Linked DNA regions of Homo sapiens: region 1 is linked to region 2. Evidence: promoter capture Hi-C in human tissues and cell types (Jung and others, 2019). All regions are on one chromosome and are shown on one strand. Each heading gives the region's core, a stretch centred on a gene start or on the middle of the fragment in contact. The rest is flanking DNA. Distances are from core to core; before and after follow the strand shown. Region 1 holds the start of APOBEC3B (apolipoprotein B mRNA editing enzyme catalytic subunit 3B). Region 2 holds the start of RPL3 (ribosomal protein L3).

What was found. Contacts are between HindIII fragments. The study calls those that stand out against the background at their distance.
Region 1: the fragment with the promoter of APOBEC3B here is called in contact with the fragment with the promoter of RPL3 in region 2 in 7 of the 25 tissues and cell types used here (H1 embryonic stem cells, heart right ventricle, lymphoblastoid cells and 4 more).

What each region holds. Positions count from the first base shown.
Region 1 is chr22:38,981,065-38,986,819 of GRCh38, reverse strand. APOBEC3B (apolipoprotein B mRNA editing enzyme catalytic subunit 3B) reads right to left here and starts at 4,473. Exons shown (of 8, transcript NM_004900.5): 1 at 4,350-4,473; 2 at 2,589-2,745; 3 at 729-1,008; 4 at 408-522. The coding sequence starts at 4,366. RefSeq lists silencers at 130-325, 4,290-4,339 and enhancers at 1,560-1,849, 892-2,091. The HindIII fragment of the contact is 18,696 bases long and covers 1-5,755 here.
Region 2 is chr22:39,317,318-39,323,167 of GRCh38, reverse strand. RPL3 (ribosomal protein L3) reads left to right here and starts at 3,545. Exons shown (of 10, transcript NM_000967.4): 1 at 3,545-3,573; 2 at 4,576-4,768; 3 at 5,539-5,707. The coding sequence starts at 3,571. It overlaps SNORD43 (small nucleolar RNA, C/D box 43), which reads left to right and starts at 4,055; the gene lies at 4,055-4,116. RefSeq lists enhancers at 1,888-2,776, 2,941-3,360, 2,777-3,666, 3,751-3,800, 3,667-4,556 and 3 more. The HindIII fragment of the contact is 19,716 bases long and covers 1-4,543 here.

The DNA of each region.
Region 1 (5,755 bases), core at 3,224-5,723, 340 kb after region 2:
CCTCAGATGTCCCCCCAGGATGCCATGGGTGCCCCCACACTGAGCTCCTTCCTTCCACATCTCCTGCCCAGAGTTGTTCCCTGGAAGGCTGAGCTCTTGCCTCCTCTTGTCCCCATGTCACAGAAGGGCAGCGGCTGGTGTCCCAGGCCACCCTGTCTTGCTGTTTGTTCCTCTAGTCCAAGACCCAGGTGCCTTAGAGGCAGAAGGGGCCTCTTACTCACAGGAAGGGCCCAGGAAAGCAGGGAGGAGGCAGTGTGGAGGGAGCACCAGGAGTTAAGGGAAGGTGGTGTGACCATGAGGGCAGGCAGTGGGTCAAGAGGGAGGGCGGGAGGGCCAGGCCAACGGAGGCCTCAGGAGGATGAGCAGGTGAGAGGAGAGAGATGATGAGGCCAGAGGGAGACCCTCACCTGAGAATCTCCTTTAGCGTGCGGTGCAGGAATGCATAATTTTCATCGAATTTGTACCAAGGCATGAATTGCTGACCTTCATTGTACACAAAGTTTTCCCAGCAGTATGCAAATTCTGAGATGAAGAAGCGGGAAGCAGTCAGGCTCTCCCCTGACCCTGGCCTGTCCTCCCAGGCCTGGTCTCCTGGCTGTCAGTTGCAGTCAGTGCCAGTCCCACCCCTGCAGGCTGCCCTGGGACACCCCCAGCCATGGCATTGCAGATCCATCCATCTTTCATGCTGTTCCTCCCGCTCACGCTCCCCTGACCCCTCCACCTCTCACCTTCATAGTCCATGATCGTCACGCGGGCTCCTGCCTGACTCAGCCTGCAGAGCGCCCTTCGGTAATCTCTTTCCCAGTAGTAGTAGAGGCGGGCGGCAGAGATGGTCAGGGTGACATTGGGGTGCTCAGACAGGAATTCGGCCAGCTTCGCCACACAGTCCGGGCAGGGGGTCCAGGATACAAACCAGGTGATCTGGAAACACTTGTAAGCAGGCAGCTGGTTGCCACAGAACCAAGAGAGGAAGCACATTTCTGCGTGGTACTGAGGCTTGAAATACACCTGGGAGAGGAGCAGGGGGCAGGGGATGCTCTGAGAGGGGGAGCAGGAGGAGTGCAGGGGTGGGGCAGGGAGAGGAGGGGCCAGGACAGGAGCCCAGGGGATCTTGCCATTGAAGCTCCTTTCCTCCATCCCCCCTGTTTAGTTTGAGTGATTGTCTGCTCCAAAGCTCACGTTCAGTGTTAATGGCTATTGTAATGGCCTTAAGAGGTGGCACCTAGAAGAGGCTATGAGGCTGTGGGGACTGCACCTTTGTGGGTGCCACTGCTGTGGTTATTCAAGGGTGACTTCAGCCCCTCTTTCTGTCTCTTGCCCTCTATCTGGAAGGGCAGTGTGTCAGACTAAACTCCTGCTTCCTCTTGTCCCCGTGGCATGGAGCAGCTGTGACTCGACATCCCAGGCCACTCTGTCTGGAGCATCCCCTGAGCTTGTGGCAACAACCTTCACCCTCATGTGACTGTTCAGCTCACAGGCTGAGGCAGGAGAATCACTTGAACCTGGCAGGTGGAAGTTGAGAGTGAGTCATTGCACTCCAGCCCAGGCAACAAAGAGTGAAACTCAGTCTTAAAAAAAAACCAAAACAAAACAAAACAAAAAAACAGAACTGTGGGAAGTGGCCAGGTGCGGTGACTCATGCTTGTAACCCCAGCACTTTGGGAGGCCAAGGCAGGTGACTCACCTGAGGTCAGGAATTCCCCAGCCTGGCCAACATGGTGAAACCCAGTCTCAACTAAAAATAGAAAAAATTAACTGGGCGTGGTGGCAGCCTTCTGTAATCCCAGCTATTCGGGAGGCTAAGGCCGAAGAATCACTTGAACCTGAGAGGTGGAGGTTGTAGTGAGCCAAGATTGTGCAATTGCACTCCAACCTGGGTGCCAGAGCGAGACTCCATCTCGGAAAAAAAAAAAAAAAAAAAAAAGGAAAAAAAGAGAAAAAAGAAATGTGGGAAAAATACACAATTGAGAGCCCAGTGCTGGGCATTTTACTTATTGTTGTGTTTTCTGCATTTCCAGCTGCTTAGGTCCTACTGTAGCAAGGGTTAAAAAGAAAAGAAGAACAAGTTTTCCTCTGCCTAGCCAGCTCACTCCAACGACAGTTATAACACTGCCTGAAAAGTCAAGGCCAAAGGAATGGGCTCCAGACACCACCCCCACACCCCTCCAGGGCAAGGTTGAAGAAAATTTTAAAAAAATTTTTTAAAAAAAAGACAAATTCCTTTACTGTCTCTCCTTTCCAGAACCATTATAACTATATTTTACAAATGTCTGTATTTAGCCAGTTCCTGTTTTCCTTTTGATGTAGCTGCAAGGCCACCAGCTATAGAAGGCCCCAAGTTATGCTAAGTCATCTGTTATGCTATAGATTATGTGACCTGTCACTGTTTGATTAATCGCCTTTGTTCTGCTTCTGTAAGTTTGCTTATAAATACCTCAGTCTGTCTTTGTTAAGGGCTCAGCCTTTTTGGATGTGAGTCTGCTGAACCAGTGCACCTAAATAAATCCTCCTGTCTCACCCATATCAGTCTCTCCAGTCCTCTAATTCCTGCAACACTGCCTGTGATTCGATTGAAGTTTGGGTGGTACCTGGCCTCGAAAGACCCCTGTGTCCCAAAGGAGATTTGAGCGGCCCCTCTTTATTTTCACTTCATAGCACAGCCAAGTGTAGCTCCGACCATAGAGGATGGGTTCGTTTTCAAAGTTGTCGTAGAATGTGTCTCGATACATCCGCTCCATCGGATTTCTGAAGGCACAAGAGAGAAACCGGCCCATGCAGGGAGCCCTCCCGGGAGTCCTCGGGGCTCATGTCCACTGAACACAGCTCCCAGGATGGCCCTGGGCCTCCCCGACCCCTCCACAGCCCTGAGAATTTCTGCTGCCTTCCCAGGCAGGAAGACTGAGGGGAGAGGAAGAGGAGGGGATGCTGGCAGGCGGGCTGGGGTGATCTCTCCCAGCTCGGGTCCAACTCTGGCCTTTCCAGGGGTACATTCCCCACCCTCCTAGTATTTCTGCCAACCCACTCCCCAACCCATTAGGAGAATGCAAAAGAGAATAAAACCCTTCACCCCTAAAAAATAGCTTTTAACCTTTCAGCTCAATTCCTTCCTGATGTTTCACTCTGCGTGTTAACATTATTTTAAAATCATGGTAGAACTGAATTCTGAGGCCCAGGCCACTCTTCTAAGTGCTGAGCGGGTGTGAGCTCACGTGAGGCTACCCTAGGCCTGCAGGGGCCATTCCCATCTTACAGAGGAGATGCCAGAGGCACAGAGAGGCGGGGTAACCTGCCGAGGCCACAGAGCTGGGGACGGATGGAGCAGGGGCCCCTTTCCAGGCCAGCCCTGTCCAGCCTCTGCATCACGGATCCTGTAGGAGAAAGCTGTTGGGGACTGGGCTCTCTTTTCACTAAATTTTAAAATCAGAGCATTTCTCCTCATCATTGCACTTTTTTCCCACATTCTCACATTCCATGTTACTGATCATGTTCTTTCTTTTTTTTTTTGATGAAGTCTCACTCTGTCGCCCAGGCTGGAGTGCAGTGGCATGATCTCAGCTCACTGCAACCTCCACCTCCCAGGTTCAAGCAATTCTCCTGCCTAAACCTCCTGAGTATCTGGGACTAGAGATGCGCCACCATGCCTGGCTAATTTTTGTATGTTTTTTAGTAGAGACGGGGTTTCACCATATGGGCCAGGTTGGTCTCAAACTCCCGACCTCATGATCCGCCCGCCTTGGCCTCCCAAAGTGTTGGGATTACAAGTGTGAGCCACCACGCTCAACCACTGGTCATGTTCTAAAAGATGAAGAGTGACCTTGGAGTGGAACCTGTCTGGGGACATCTGCTCACCATGGAGTCATCCTTGGATGACACGATTTATCATGTGCTTCAGAGACCATTCCTACCCCCGCACCCTCTCCTAAGACTTTGTATTTAAGCAAAGTAATTCTTACAGAAATTTCATCAAAACACTGAGAACAAAAATGCCTGATTGCTCCAATTACCCTTTGGTTCAATTCTCCCAGTTTCTGAGCTCAGGAGTGGCAGGAAGCACACAGAGGGAGCACCCTCCCAGGGCGGGGAGCACCAGTCCGGGCATGACTTTAAGGGAGAGTCTCAGCACGGGGCCTGGGCTGGTGCAGGTAGGGGAGGCAGCCCATTCAGAAGCAGCAGTGGGGTGACCACACAGCAGGACAAAGAGCCTGACTGGGATTCGTGTGGCAGGGGAGCCAGAGGGGAGGGAGCCCAGGGCTGGGGCAGGGGCGGGGGGAGGCCAGGGTTGAGGCCCAGCAGGACCACCAGGCAGGAAGGGGCAGGAGGGGCCCAGCAGGCAGAGTGGGCAGCGGTACCTGATCTGTGGATTCATGTTCAGCCTCTTAGATACGCTTGTCCCTGTCCCGCTCTTTTTTTGAAGCTCTGTGGTTTCACTTCCTGCTTACAGCGTCCTTGCAGTTGGACAGCCCTCCTTAAAGTGACCTCCCAGGGCCTTATGAGTCATGGCCCCTCCCCATTCCTGCTCAGGCATTGGTGTGGGAGGCCCCGGGGTGCTTCATGTTTCTCTGGCTCTGGCTCTGGCTCTGGTTTTCCCCGGACCCTTCCCGCTGGCAGAGGAACCTCCAATAAAGACAGGCTGCTCTGTCTTTATCTGTCCTGGGCAGGACCCAACGGAATTGCAAAGAGAAAGAGAAAGGCATTGCAGCCTGAGCCTGGGAGGCGGGTCCAGACCCAGCTGAGAGAGGGGCAGGTGCCCCGTTGCCTGGTGGTTGGGCAGGCTGGAGCCCCCTCTCCACCACCCCCTCCCCAGCCCTAATGTGTGCCCAGAGCTTTGAGCAGCACCACCCTGTTGAGTGAGGGGAGGTTTTGAGACTCCAGTGGGGAAGGAAGTGTGGACTCCGCACAGCACAAGGGAAGGCTTAGGTGTGCCTCGAGTTCCCAGCTGTGTGCTGGGTCCATGGCATGCGTCCCCTCTTCCAACCTCCCAGCTTCCAGAAGGTGGGGGGCAGGTCAGCCCCTCAGAGGGACTGCGATGTCTGCGACACCAAGGAAGGGAGAAGGGTGTCTATAAACAGGCTCACTGCCCAGGGACCTCTCAAGGGGTTCTTTGTGGGCCAAGAAAACGGGAAACACATACACACACAGCTTTCTGATTATTTAAGTCCATCTAAGCATATTTTGGAGGAATGAATGTACATTGAAATAATCTTCCTAAATAGATTCCTTTAAGGGGAGTTTGTTCCAGCTGGAGAAGTTGTGCTCTCTGTAGAGGCTCTGAACTCCTCTGGCTACGACGACGGGAATGCAGACAGGGAGGAGGATGCGTGGGTGGTAGGGGGAGCAGCAGCGCCCCTACCTGCACAGAAGCTTGTCCAACCTCTGCACAAAGCGGACTCCCAGTGGTTGTTTTTGGAAGGTGAGTTTTCTTTTCTTTCTTTTTTTTTTTTTAAATCTTCCCCAGTATAAATCTTTTAATTTAAAAGTAAATTTTATTGTCGAAAATGCAAACTTGGGGAGGGCAGAAAGATCACACACAGGGCTGTCACTTCACACCTGGGGGGTTGCTGGGAGCCGTCCAGAAGCGCTCCTCACTTCCCAGACGGTGCGGGGGCCGTCCAGAGGCGCTCCTCACTTCCCAGACGGTGCGGGGGCTGGGCAGAGGCGCTCCTTACTTCCCAGACGGTGGGACAGCCAGGCAGAGGCGCTCCTCTGGAAGGTGAAGTTTTCTGTTGCCGTCAGAAAGAGATGGACAAAGGATAAG
Region 2 (5,850 bases), core at 2,296-4,795:
GTGTGCTGGATAGGAAAACTGCAGGTGGTTGCAGACAGCATGCAGTTTATACAGCATTTTCACTTAACACCTTCCCCTTAATGACCTCTCTCTGGTAGCCTTCATTTAACCCAAAACTTAGGACCTCAATCCCTGGTATAGTCTGTATTCCACAGGACTGGCTGGGGGCTCAGGTGTTCCTCATAGACAAGGAACCAGTCTTCGGGTTGGCCTTGCCCAGATTCCTTAGCTCGAACACACATGCAGGTGCATCTGCCATACAAGGTCATTCTAAGGGTATGCTTAAGTTATTGCTATTAGGTGCATTTACCCTACACCTAGTGAGCTATCTGTATGCTGGCAAGGCAGTTCAGGTCTACTGATGCTCTTTTCTTTCTTGACTGGAAAGGGAATTCTTGAGGGAGAATAGTTTGCCCAGGACCCTTAGTGGCACTTTTCTTTTGAACCTTCATTACAATTTTAAATTGTCTTATTTGGTCTGTGACAGTGGCCATCTTGTTCTCTATATTCCTGCAGCCTGGTGCAGGACCCGGCACAGAGCAGGCCTCCAGTAAGAATTTCTTCTTGCTCAGGATTCCAAAGCTCCTTTTCCGATAAGGGGATTATTGATCCCTGAGTCTAATGCCGTGAAAAACCAACCTGGAGTCAGATAGACTTGAGCTCTGTCCTTCACTAATTATGTGACTTTGTCAAGTTATTAACCTCTTGGCTGGAAGTTTAGTTTTCTATGTAAAAACGGGGCAATAGGCTGGGCGCGGTGGCTCACACCTGTAATCCCAGCACTTTGGGAGGCTGAGACGGGTGGATCACGAGGTCAGGAGATCAAGACCATCCTGAATAACACAGTGAAACCCTGTCTCTACTAAAAATACCAAAAATTAGCCGGGCCTGGTGGCGGGTGCCTGTAGTCCCAGATAGTTGGGAGGCTGAGGCAGGAGAATGGCATGAACCCGGGAGGCAGAGCTTGCAGTGAGCCGAGATAGTGCCACTGTGCGCCACTGCACTCCAGCCTGGGCGATAGAGCCAGACTCCGTATCGGAAAAAAAAAAGGGCGGGGGGCAATATGGGTAGGTTATAATCCTTTGTCTGCATCCTGAAATTTTTTTTTTTTTTTTTTTTTGAGATGGAGTTTTGCTTTTCTCACCCAGGCTGGAGTGCAATGGTGCAATCTTGGCTTACTGCAACCTCCATCTCCCAGGTTCAAGCAATTCTCTTGCCTCAGCCTCCCAAGTAGCTGCGATTACAGGCGCCCACCACCACCCCTGGCTAATTTTTGTATTTTTAGTAGAGACGGGGTTTCACCATGTTGGCCAGGCTGGTCTCGAACTCCTGATCTCAGGTGAACCACCCACCTTGGCCTCCCAAAGTGCTGGGATTACAGGCATGAGCCACCACGCCTGGTCTTGTTTTTTTTTTTTTTTTTTTTTTGAGACAGAATCCTGATTGGTCACCCAGGCTGGAGCACAATGGCACGATCTCGGCTCACTGCAACCTCTGCCTCCCGGATTCAAGCAATTCTCCTCCCTCGGCCTCCGGGGTAGCTGGGACTACAGGCGTGCACAACAACTGCTAATTTTTGTATTTTTAGGAGAAACGGGGTTTCACTGTGTTGGCCAGGCTGGTCTCAAGTTCCTGACCTCCAGTGATCCACCCTCCTCAGCCTCCCATAAGTGATGGGATTACAGGTGTGAGCCACCGTGCCTGGCCTGTATCCTGAAATTTTAAAAACCTTCTTAAATTATTTGGCAGCAAAAAGTAAACTGATGCATTTTTTGAGCAGCAAAGTCAGCCTTGAACTGATGTGAGTCTATTTATATTTGTCCCACTCCATGTGAATATTCATGTTTCCTTACGGAATATTGTTTTTCTTTAAAAAGTGCTGTATTACATAATATACAGTATGTGCACCATATTACCTTTCTAAAAATCAAAAAATGCTCAATTTTGAAACATATGTGGCCCCCAGGATTTCTAATAATGGATTGAAGATCTATCACTTATGTCCTTCGGGAATGGTGTGAGGATTGAGATAATTTTTTTTTTTTTGAGCTGGATTGCACTGGCGCAATCTCAGCTCACTGCAAACTCCGTCTCCCGGGTTCAAACGATTCTCCCGCCTCAGCCTCCCAAGTAGCTGGGATTACAGACGCACACCATCGTGCCCCGCTAATTTTTGTATTTTTAATAGAGACGGGGTTTCGCCATGTTGCCCAGGCTGGTTTCGAACTCCTGACCTCAGGTGATCCGCCCGCCTCGGTCTCCCAAAGTGTTGGGATTACAGGCGTGAGCCACCGCGCCTGGCCGAGAGAATGCTTTTCAAACGACGGTGGGAGCAAAGGCCAGGCCCAGAATTAAAGAAGATGACAGGGTGGGACAGAGGAAGCAGGTGATATGAGAGCGTGTGCTCTGGCGCAGCCATGAGGCTGAAGTAGACGGTTAGGGGAGCGTCTTTGGTGGCCGCTGAAGTTGATGCTTAATTCCGAGGAAACAACGAGGCGGCCATGGAAAGTAACGAGATACTTGATTCTTAGAAAGATTTGTAGGGGGCCAGGCGCGGTGGCTCACACCTGTAATCCCAGCACTTTGGGAGGCCGAGGCGGGCGGATCACGAGATCAGGAGTTCAAGACCAGCCTGGCCAACATGGTGAAACACCGTCTCCACTAAAAATACAAAAAAAAAAAAAAAAAAAATTAGCCAGGCATGGTGGCGCATTCCTGTAATCCCAGCTACTCGGGAGGCTGAGGCAGGAGAACTGCTTGAACTGGGAACCGGTAGGCGGAGCTTGCAGTGAGCTGAGATCGCGCCACTGCGACAGAGCGAGACTCCGTCTCAAAAAAGAGATTTGTAAGGGACCAGCCTGGAAGCAGGGAATCGGTCAGGATCCGAGTCACCCTGGAGCCTAGGCAGAGATCAGCGAAAGCCCTCGCTGATGCATAGGTCTGGAAGGCGTGGGGCTCCGGGAGGCTGAGCAGCTGGACTCGGCATGACCAGAGGTCGTGAGGCCGTTCCGCAGGCTTGGGACGCTCCTGACCCTCAGAATCAAGCGCGGGCCACTGCATTAGCATGGGAGAAATGGCAGAGATAGGGCTTGAGGGAGGGATGCCCGAGATTAAAGGTATTAAAGGTAAATTGGTGTCGCCGCAAAACCAGCGTGGGAGCCAGGAAACGAGAGTTTCAGTCTTTCTTCGCTAATTCCAGAGATAGCTGCATATCACAGGAGGAGAAGCGACGCAGCCATTTTTCTTCGTTATTATCAAATTTGGCTGCTGCCGGACGCCGTAGATTTGTGGCTCACCCACCCTTAGCCCACCTCTCCGCGGCTTTTCACTAAGTTTGAACCCGACCCCTCGCCGTAGAGTGTGTAATTTCTGTCTCCGAAGCTGACGTCAACTTCTGAACGAAAGCTAGGAGCGGAAGAGCGTGCGTGGAAATGGCGCTCGGTACGTGCCCCCGACCTGTCGTCTGCCGCGGGGGCGCGCTCGCACGCCGGAAGGGGCGGGGCCAGATTTGGCTTTATATAGCGGACCCGTAAGGCCGACCGGCCTCTACCGGCGGGATTTGATGGCGTGATGGTATGTGTTGTAATGGCGGCCGTTTCATTGTCACCGGCGTCGGCACGGCTGAATCCGCGACGCATCGCCGCCATCCCGTCTTGGCCGGCGCCGGGGGTTTGCTTTAGGGGCACGGGCGACCCAGCGGGGACTTCAGTCTGGCCTATTTTCTGGAAAGTCGAGAGGCTTGTGAAGAGCGCTTGGAGGACTGGCTTTGGGCCTGCAGGTCGGCCAGAGAGAGGCCGTAAGGGTGGGAGCAGGCTTGGAGGCCCGGCGTTTTTAAAGCCATGAGTCATTTCTAAGTTTCGACCTCACCAATTCTATCATTAGTTGGGATTAGGGCCCATAACCTGCTTGTCTGGGTAGAAGGACCTTGGGTGGAGGTTCTCGGCGCCGTTCTCATTGGGAGGTAAAGAAGCTTGGGGGAGGGGAGTGTTGTGGAGTCCTCCTGAATATCTGGGGCCGCTGGTGCACTCCGAAGGCCTCTGGAGCTCGCAGAAACCACAGATGATGAACTTATTGACGGGCGGACAGAAACTGTGTGCTGATTGTCACGTTCTGATTTGGCTCTGCGGAGTTCTTTGGCCTGTGTGTATCAGTGTAATTAGTGTCCGGGCACCGGAGGCAGCCTATAGCTTAACATTGCTAGCTGCTACCCAGCGTTTGTCCCGGGAGTCCCTTTCTTTAGCGGTCAAAACCTTGCTAATTGGCATATAAAGCTGCCTGTTAAGCAGTTTTTAGTGCCACTACTTAGTGTATTTTTGTGTGGTTAGATAAAAAAAATGGGTCGTTTTCTTACAGGTTGAGAGGATTTGAAATAAGATTCAGCTTAAATTTTGTCGAATACAAAAGCATTCTTGACACGTGCGAGCCTGGAAGAGATAATGACCTTTTTATTCGGCTTGCTGGGTGTCTGGTCAGGATTCTTCAGTATTGCTGAGATTTGGAACTTAAGCAGCTGGGAACTAGAGAAGGGGGCACTGCTTTGGTTTGGGTGCTGACGGTGATTTTTTTCCCACCTAGTCTCACAGAAAGTTCTCCGCTCCCAGACATGGGTCCCTCGGCTTCCTGCCTCGGAAGCGCAGCAGCAGGCATCGTGGGAAGGTGAAGAGCTTCCCTAAGGATGACCCGTCCAAGCCGGTCCACCTCACAGCCTTCCTGGGATACAAGGCTGGCATGACTCACATCGTGCGGGAAGTCGACAGGCCGGGATCCAGTATGTACAGACATCCTAAAAGTTGGGGGAATAGGAGTGGAGGGGGAGGGAAATTGTAGAGATGGAGTCAAGCTGTTAGCAGAGGGCAGACTTTTTTTTTTAAGCAGGAGTTACACGTTGTCAGAACTGCTGCGACAGCAGAATGGGAATGCTTAACTTGAAAACTAATATTCCAAGGCTACAGATGGTCAGCACTGTTTGCTTTAGGTGCGGTGTGGGGTATTGATTTCAGAGCATAGTAAATTTGCCAGGAACCTTAGCAAAGAGAAGTTAACACTAGTGTGGGGGGTTGGAGCTGCTGAGGCTGGCATAAGAACTGCCTCATTCATGTTTTTTTCACCTGAAAGCTTGAATAATGGCCACTTACCTGTGTGTGTTCTACTTAGAGATGTCTAACAGCACTGGTTGCTGAGCCATGGAGACATTAATGTTAGGCAGTTGATACTGACTAATCTCTGAGCTCAGAGCTATTGTTAGGGCACTGAATTTTCCAGATAAATAGCAATCTTGTCTGCCTCCAGAGGTTTCTGTAGAAGAGAATTGAAGCTGGACAGGTATTTGGCTGTCTAGGGTCCTGATATTTTTTGTTTGAATAACATAAATGTGCTTTGAATGAGAGATAGGCAGTAAGGACAGCCCTGTGAGTCCGTACTGCAGGTGTGGGGCCCAGTTGCCCTTCCGGCCTAAATGGGCACTTTGCATTTTCCTAGAAAACATTACACCCCTTGCTTGGGCTCCTGCCAAGTCTGACTACTGCTTTTTTTTTGCAGAGGTGAACAAGAAGGAGGTGGTGGAGGCTGTGACCATTGTAGAGACACCACCCATGGTGGTTGTGGGCATTGTGGGCTACGTGGAAACCCCTCGAGGCCTCCGGACCTTCAAGACTGTCTTTGCTGAGCACATCAGTGATGAATGCAAGAGGCGTTTCTATAAGAATTGGTAAGGGAGGAGGCCATGCAGTCCCTAGCTTGGGAGCTTGGGAGCTGGAGAGCAGGGAGCAGCGTGTGCATGGTTTCTCAGCTCTGTAGCAGGCAGGGAGCTGCTGTCTTGGGTTTAGTTTGCCTCTCGAACAGAAAAATACC